Linked DNA regions of Homo sapiens: region 2 is linked to region 1. Evidence: promoter capture Hi-C in 16 types of primary human blood cells and fetal thymus (Javierre and others, 2016). All regions are on one chromosome and are shown on one strand. The core of a region is centred on a gene start or on the middle of the fragment in contact, and the rest is flanking DNA. Distances in the headings are between cores, read along the strand shown.

Region 1 (3,630 bases), core at 658-3,157:
ATAGAAGGTGAGAACATAGACCCCACCTCTTGATGGAGGAGTGTCAATGTCACATGGTAAGAAGGGTATGTGGGGTGAGATCCATATTAGAGCAGCTATGTTTGGGAAACACACTCTGCCACAACCAAAAACCACTGGATTACCAAACCGTTGAAACAGACCTTGAAATAACCACCTATTTGCCACTCACAAAATTCATTTCATAAGACACAGCTCAAATGTCCCTTCCTTTTGGGAATCCCGTGCTGATATGCCCCAGCTTACACAGCGCTTTGTAAAGATGCCTACTCTCTCACTCGGCTTATTCTATTGTCATTTTCATAACAGGATTGTAATCAGGCAGGTACGATCATACTATATTAGCCAATCATTTTACTAGTCAATCAATATGACATCATAGGGCAGCTTTGCAAAGAGCCCTCAGATTGATGGAGAAGAGATACTTTTAGGGAAGCCAGAAGCAACGCTTTGCACAGAAAACAAAGGACAGCAAAGAGAAAAGAATCAGCAACTCAGAGAAGAAAAACTGGATCACACAAAGATGGAAAAAATATATACATATACAGACATGGGTTTTTGTGCTTTTCCCCTCCAGAAGGTGAGTTGAAAGCATTGCCCCAAAGCAGTGATTCTCTTTTCTTTTTTCTTTTTTTTTCTTTTTTTTGAGATGGAGTCTGGCTCTGTCTCCCAGGCTGGAGTGCAGTGACGCCATCTTGGCTCACTGCAGGCTCCGCCTCCCGGGTTCACGCCATTCTCCCGCCTCAGCCTCCCGAGTAGCTGGGACTACAGGCGCCCGCCACCACGCCCGGCTAATTTTTTTGTATTTTTAGTAGAGACGGGGTTTCACCATGTTAGCCAGGATGGTCTCGATCTCCTGACCTCGTGATCCGCCCACCTCGGCCTCCCAAAGTGCTGGGATTACAGGCGTGAGCCACCGCGCCCGGCCCCAAAGCAGTGATTCTCAAACCTCAGCTGTGTCAGGGTCACCGGGAGGGCCTGGGTCTGGTGAAATACCCCCAGTTTCTGATTCGGTGGGCCAGGGTGGGGCCTGAGAACCTGCATTTTCACGGATTCCCAGGCGATGCTTCTGCTGGTCGTCCGATCCCAGGCTTCAAGAACCAGTACCCACTTTGTGAGGCCGAGGTGGGAGGATTGCTTGGATCCTTGAGTTCGAGACCAGCCTGGCCATCATAGGGAGAACCTCCCCACCCCCAACCCCGCCACAGTTCTTTTTTTTTTTTTTTTTAATTAAAAAATAACTGGGCGTGGTGGCGCTGGCCTGTGGTCCCAGCTACTCCGGAGGCTGAGGTGGGAGGATCGCTGGAGCCCGGGAGGCGGAGGTTGCAGTGAGCTGTGGTGGTGCCACTGCACTCCAGCCTGGGCACCAGAACGAGACCCTGTCTCAAGAAAGATGAAAAGGAATATACTGGAGATTCTGAAGGCAATGACCACACTGACCACAGGTGAAACCCCGCAAAGACGGAGGAACCCAAAGAGCCACGAGAGCTGTGGGTGGAGACGGCCCAGGAGGCTGCAGCGGCCTGCTTTCAACAGCATACTTCTGGGTGGGACCCCCCGGGGCGGACACCGCCGCTCCCCTTGGCCGCGGTGGCGGGCGCCCCCTCCCGACGCTCTTGGGTAGTGCAACCCGGACCGCACAGCGGAGCGGCCGGCCCCCAGGTGGGCGGGGCCAACCCGGACCAGCCTCCCGCCGCCTCAAGTCCTTGGGTTGCTGGGACTGCAGGCCGCCGCGAAGACAGTCCCCGCCCGCCGGGTGGGCGGGCCCAAGGAGACCGCCCCGCTCTTCCCCCCGGGCCTTGATTGGTCAGCGTCGCCCTTGCGCGATGACGTCGTGCCTGGGCGGAAACTTTGCGAGAGTAGCGCGGGAGCTGAGAAGTTGCAGGGTTGAGTTGGTCCCGGCAAGTCCTTGAGCAGTTTGTTCCTCTGTCTTCCCGCTTCCTGGTGCCCCGACTGCGTCCCCACGAACGCCCCGTCCTTACCGCCGGCTGCTGTGGAGTGCCTCGCTGTCTCCCAGGTCCCCGAGTGAGCGTCGAATGGGACCTCTGTGGCTAGGGCAGGCCTGTGTGGGTGGCACTGAGAGGGAGGAGGGGAGGGGGATGTTCGCAGTTTCCTTGCGACCCCAGGGACTTTCTTTGTCCCCGCCATCCACCTCCTTAGGCCTTTGGGATCGCCGACTGGTCTAATGTCGCCGGCCCTTGTGGCTCTGGGAAATTAGCATTGATTAATCTTCCTAACAATTTTTGTTTTTATAGAGACAGGATCTCCCTATGTTGCCCAGGCTGGTCTCGAACTCCTGGGCTCAAGGTATCTTCCTGCCTCGGCTTCCCAAAGTGCTGGGATTACAGGCGTGAGCCCGGCCAGCTCCTAATAATGTTAAGTGCTTGCTAGGAGTCAAGCGCTGTGCTGAGCGCAGGGGCTTCCCACGTCATTGCGTCCCCAGTGCTTAGTGCCAGGCACTGAGCAGAGGCGCGATTCGTATTTGAACTAAAACGAACCCCGTCCCTGAGGAACAAGACCTCTACTGGGAAGTCAAAGAAATGAATAGTGATTGTATGGTGTGATGGGTGCTCAGCTCTTGGTGGACAGAAGTAAGGGGGAGGCTTGTTTGAGAAACGGATACCTGACCTAAGCCTTGGAGGAAGAGGCAGACACTGGAAAACTAGAGTCCCTGCGTTCTCTCACCACTTGCTAAAGGGCCTCTACAACCCCAGGAAACCTCAATAAACCTTTCCTTTCTCCAGATAGATGTCTGTTCTTGCAGATAATTAGAAAACGCATTGCAGAGTATTGGTTCTTTCCCTCTCATTAGGTTCCTGGTTTCAGAGAAGATGACCGAAGAAGTGGATTTCCTGGGACAGGACTCTGATGGGGGTAGTGAGGAAGTGGTCCTAACTCCTGCAGAGCTCATTGAAAGATTGGAGCAGGTAAGCATCCCAGATCGAATCCCTTTGCTCCAGTCAGCCTTTTTATTTAGTTCAACTGTGAATATCAGGGATCACAAGATGAGGAAACGGAATTTGGGGCTTACTTTAGAACAGGGACTGGATCTTACCATCTACATGGAAACGGGAAGCAAGAAGGACATCCTCTGTTAGAGACCTCATCATATCAAACACAGCATCCCCAAGTGGGGTCAGTAAGGGACAGCTTTGGGCACATTCAGTGAACAGTTCACAGAGCAAGGATCCACGTGATATTTTCAGGGACTGTAGAGGTCCCTGAACTTCTTTACCTTAGTCCCTTGAACATCTGCTGTTTCCCTGGAGAATGCCTGTTTAGCAAGAAAATGCTGAAATGCCTGTAAGGGAAAACTGGTCATATTTTTCCTTTTTCTCACATGTTTTTTCTTGAGTCGTCTGCTCTCCATATGTCCACTGCTTATCTAAAATCCTTTCTGAAATATTTCTCCTTTAAGTTGTAATAGCTATGACTTACTGCATATTTCCCATGTGCCAGTAACTGTGTTCTTTACACTTATATCTCATGATGCTCTGGTAACAGGAGTTCAGACTATCTGGATTTAAATCTGTCTGTGACACTCCTCTGTTATGTGATCTTGAGCAAGTTAGGGAGTTTGTCTCAAGCCGTTGCTTGCCTATAAAATTGAGA
Region 2 (4,232 bases), core at 1,261-3,760, 1.5 Mb before region 1:
AGGCCATCACAACCTTACATACACAAAAAAATACTTACACAACGACATCTGCCCAGCAACTGCCTTTCCAACATTGGCCTTGTGCCACCCTTTTTATTGATGCTCATAGCCAAGGTTAATGATCTCAAAACAGTTACATAATTGTCCTCATTTTTCCTTTAAAAACCTTTGTCTTCCTTTATCTTTCTGAATACCCACATGGTTTATTATGGCACATGTATTCCCATTGCAATGCCCTATTCCAGAATAAATATCAGTTTCCATTAGGGAGCCTCTCCCTGTTAATCTGCTTAACACAGGCATGGTCAGTTACGGGGCCCAACCTTCCTGGACCGGTTACATCTTATTCTGGTTACTGCATTCAGTTTCCAACATCTGGGAGGCTCTTCAAATTCTTCTCTCAGAGGAATCTGAAGAATGTATGTGTTTAGGAGGATGTGAGAGAGGGGTGTGGTTTCTTAACAAGAGAATATCAGAGTCTAAGTATCATTTTCCCTGAATCTTGCTTCCCTGCAGGAAAGAAAGATTCTGGGAAAAGAGAGTGTTTACAAGAAGCAGGACTGGAGGGAGGGAGAAAGACGCTAGGTACTGCCAAGCTTTATTATCTTGTATTAAAAAAGTAAATATAATTTGTCATCCCAGCCTCTCAGCACTAGTAGAAATCTATCTGAAGTCACAGGATTAGGTATTATCCACTTCCTGGTTTTATAGTTTATATTTGTATTTTCTCTATTTCCTTGAATTTTAATTTTAAAGCCCTCATGATCACATCAGTAGGTCTTCTGCCAAACAGCTCCCTTAAGTTGTATGGTGGCTTTGCCAAGCTGAAATGAGATGAGATGTGTTTTAGCTTTGCCAAGAAAGCCTGAGTCCATCACTTAGGATAGCAAGGCTATTAGGGAGATAGTGCAGGTGTCTTCAGATCACATGGATGAGCAAAAGGAAGCAATTTTGGAAGATTATGAGAAACCTTCCAACAGGTCCCAGTGTACATAGCAGTAAGATGGTGCATGCAGTGTCTAACTGTCACAGGCTTTCCTAGGGCTCACTTTCAGACTCACTTCTTTTTTTTTTTTTTTTTTTTTGTGAGATGGAGTCTCACTCTGTCACTCAGGCTGGAGTGCAGTGGCACGATCTTGGCTCACTGCAAGCTCTGCCTCCCGGGTTCAAGCGATTCTCTTGCCTCAGTCTCCCTAGTAGCTGGGATTATAGGCATGCACCACCATGCCCAGCTAATTTTTGTATTTTTAGTAGAGATGGGGTTTCGCCATGTTGGCCAGGCTGGTCTCGAACTCCTGACCTCAGGTGATCTGCCTACCTTGGCCTCCCAAAGTGCTGGGATTACAGCCGTGAGCCACTGCGCCCAGCTCAGACTCACTTTTTAGGCCCAGGCCAACCTGCTGTGTTCTCCTGCTCAGCTTCTGCAGGAGGTCTCATCGTCTAAGGAGGTCCCAGGGCTACCGCCCTTGTTTTCTCAAAAGGCACATTTTCCCACACAGACATAATTTCGTTTCAGTGTTTTACTCCTAGTCACATTCATCTATATGGACAAATAGCTGAATGGATTGGACTGTGTTTTCTAAAGATGGCCCCATGCCATCCTGCGCGCTCCTCCACAGCGTGGCCTGGGCATTCCTTTCGACCAGGGGTGGACTCTGTGCCCCTACTTGTGATGTACGTGTTGCCAATAGAATGTAGTATAGGGGATAGCACAGACTTCTGAGGCAAGACTAGAAGAGGTGATGCAGGTTTAACCTTGTGTCCTGAGCCACTAGGTAAAAAGTCCACCTACCCTGAGATCACTCTGCTGTGCAAACGACACAGGCAAACCACATCAAAGAGCCATGTGGGTTCTCCAGTTGGCTTCTGCCCAGGAGTGAAGGTGCCCTCAGATGGTTCTAGGCTCCCATCCCAACTTATGTCCTGTCTTGAAGTCTTCCCAACTGAGGCACCAGCCACTGTGGAGCAGAGTCAAGCCATTGCCATCTTGTTCTGCCCAGATTCCCCATCAACAGAATATAGTGGTTTTTTCACACCTCTATGTTTGGAGTGGTTTCTATGCAGCAATAGTAACCACAAGAAATAAAGTTATAAAAATAGTAACAAACACTAGAAACTGCAAGATTTAAGGAATCACCTGAATGCTCCAGTCATTGTCTCTGGTTTGTAATGATAAACTTTCTTCTGCGTGATAAATAGAGCTTGGCTGGACTTTTTCCCTCTGCTTCCATTCCCCAAAATGGAGCGTACCAAACAATTGCTTCTTTCAGAGCCCAGCTTTAGCAAGAGTCATGAGCTCTAATCCCTTCATCCATAAATACTTCCTTTCCAGGCACGTAGAGCCCTTCACACTCAGGGCTGAGTAGAAAATGCCTGTTGCAGACTGCAGTGGCGTTTTGGAGAGCCACCCTCCTGGTACCTGAGTCACTAGTCCTTTGCCCAGCTTTTCTCAGTTTTGTAAAGCGCTCACTTCTGAGTGGAAGACAGAACCAGCCCGGTCTATTTTCATAATCTGCCCCCATAAGGCAGAAGTCCACACGGTACTGGAAACATAACCATATCTATGTCAGTCTGCCACTGCCTGCCGCCTGTCAACCGTGCGTGTCTGCATCCAGTCCTTCTTTGGAGCTGCTTTCCAGCGACTCAGCCAGATCTGAGCTTTCTGACTCATTGGAAGGTTAAACTATTTTCAGACTTTCAAGTGTTGAGATTATTAAGACATGTGTTTTTTTTTTTCTTCTTTTTTTGGCATGCTTACTGATCGCCCCTGTTCTCTAGGAAGTAATGTTCTTCTTGGAAAAGGTGAAGGATATTTTTCTCCCCAAAAAGCCATGGAAATGTTTGCCTTTATTTACTTCCAAATTAACAGAATTTCCAGCTTTTGCTTGACCCATCGGCGCATTGGCAGCGTTAAGAATTTTTTCTTTTAGCAGTAATGAGGAGTCGAAGGGTTTCTTCCTAACCATTTAGTGTATGCATTTAAATCAGGTTTCTTTTTGAGTAAATTGGGGCTAAGCTGTAGTGTGAACTTCTGCTACTGTTCCTTTCTCATTAGTTCACTTGATTTCATGGAAGGAATTTTCCATCTCAGCCTGTGAACTTATTTTGTCTAAACTCAATTGGAAAGTAATTAACACTGAGATTCTTCTTTAATAAATTCTATATGATAATAAAATCATACAAACATCTCTTTATTTTTCTTTTTGACCTAGAAAAGATGTTCACAGGCCAGACCTGGTGGCTGAAGCCTGTAATCCCAGCACACTGAGAGGAAGAGGCGGGTGGATCACATGAGGTCAGTCCGAGGGCAGGGTAGCCAACGTGGTGAAACCCCATCTCTAGTAAAAACACAAAAATTAGCTGGGCATGGTGGCACATGCCTGCAATCCCAGCTACTCAGGAGGCTGAGGCAGGAGAATCACTTGAACCTGGGAGATGGAAGTTGCAGTGAGCCTAGATCCTGCCACTGCACTCCAGCCTGGGCGACAGAGTGAGACTCTGTCCCCAAAAAAATAAATAAATAAAAGATGTTCACAATATATTGTTAAGTGAAAAAAGCAGGCTACATAACTTGCATAATATGAGTGCATTTTAATAAAAATATACATATTTAGCAAAATAAAAGGACAAATGGTATTTATTAAAATATTTACGTTGATTATTTCAACACAGAGGATGATAGTTGATTTTGCTTAATTTCTTCCCTCCTTCTTTTCAATTTGAATTTTCTATAATGAAGATTGTTTCTTTTTCTTTCTTTCTTTTTTTTTTTTGAGATGGAGTTTCGCTCTTGTTGCCCAGGCTGGGGTGCGATGGCGCCATCTCGGTTCACCACAACCTCTGCGTCCCAGGTTTAAGTGATTCTTCTGCCTCAGCCTCCCTAGTAGCTGGGATTATAGGCGTGTGCCACCACACCCGGCTGATTTTGTATTTTTAGTAGAGACGGGCTTTCTCCATGTTGGTCAGGCTGGTCTCGAACTCCTGACCTTAGGTGATCTGCCCACCTCAGCCTCCCAAAGTGCTGGGATTACAGGCATGAGCCACCGCGCCTGGACTGATTATTTTTTAAATAGGGTTAGAAAGTGAGGAAGTTACTAAACTCCGATTAGCCCAAATATGCCCCAGTGGGTCCTTCTGGCAGAGTAAATGTCTCGGTTCAGCCTGAATCTGGGAAATTGTTCCTACGGTTCAGCCTGAATCTGGGAAATTGTTCCTACCTTATAAACTGGAGT

The links. Contacts are between HindIII fragments. The CHiCAGO score rates a contact against its expected background, and 5 or more counts as called.
Region 2: a fragment that was not itself captured here is called in contact with the fragment with the promoter of GINS4 in region 1 in 1 of 17 cell types (neutrophils); the score reaches 6.1 in neutrophils.

The regions. Positions count from the first base shown.
Region 1 is chr8:41,527,354-41,530,983 of GRCh38, forward strand. GINS4 (GINS complex subunit 4) reads left to right here and starts at 1,908. Exons shown (of 8, transcript NM_032336.3): 1 at 1,908-2,043; 2 at 2,831-2,945. The coding sequence starts at 2,850. RefSeq lists a silencer at 1,454-1,883. The HindIII fragment of the contact is 13,395 bases long and covers 1-3,630 here.
Region 2 is chr8:39,990,502-39,994,733 of GRCh38, forward strand. All of the region lies in intron 8 of IDO2 (indoleamine 2,3-dioxygenase 2), which reads left to right. Among named protein-coding and RNA genes, the nearest start is that of IDO2, 58 kb to the left of the region's middle. RefSeq lists a silencer at 229-523. The HindIII fragment of the contact is 3,832 bases long and covers 595-4,232 here.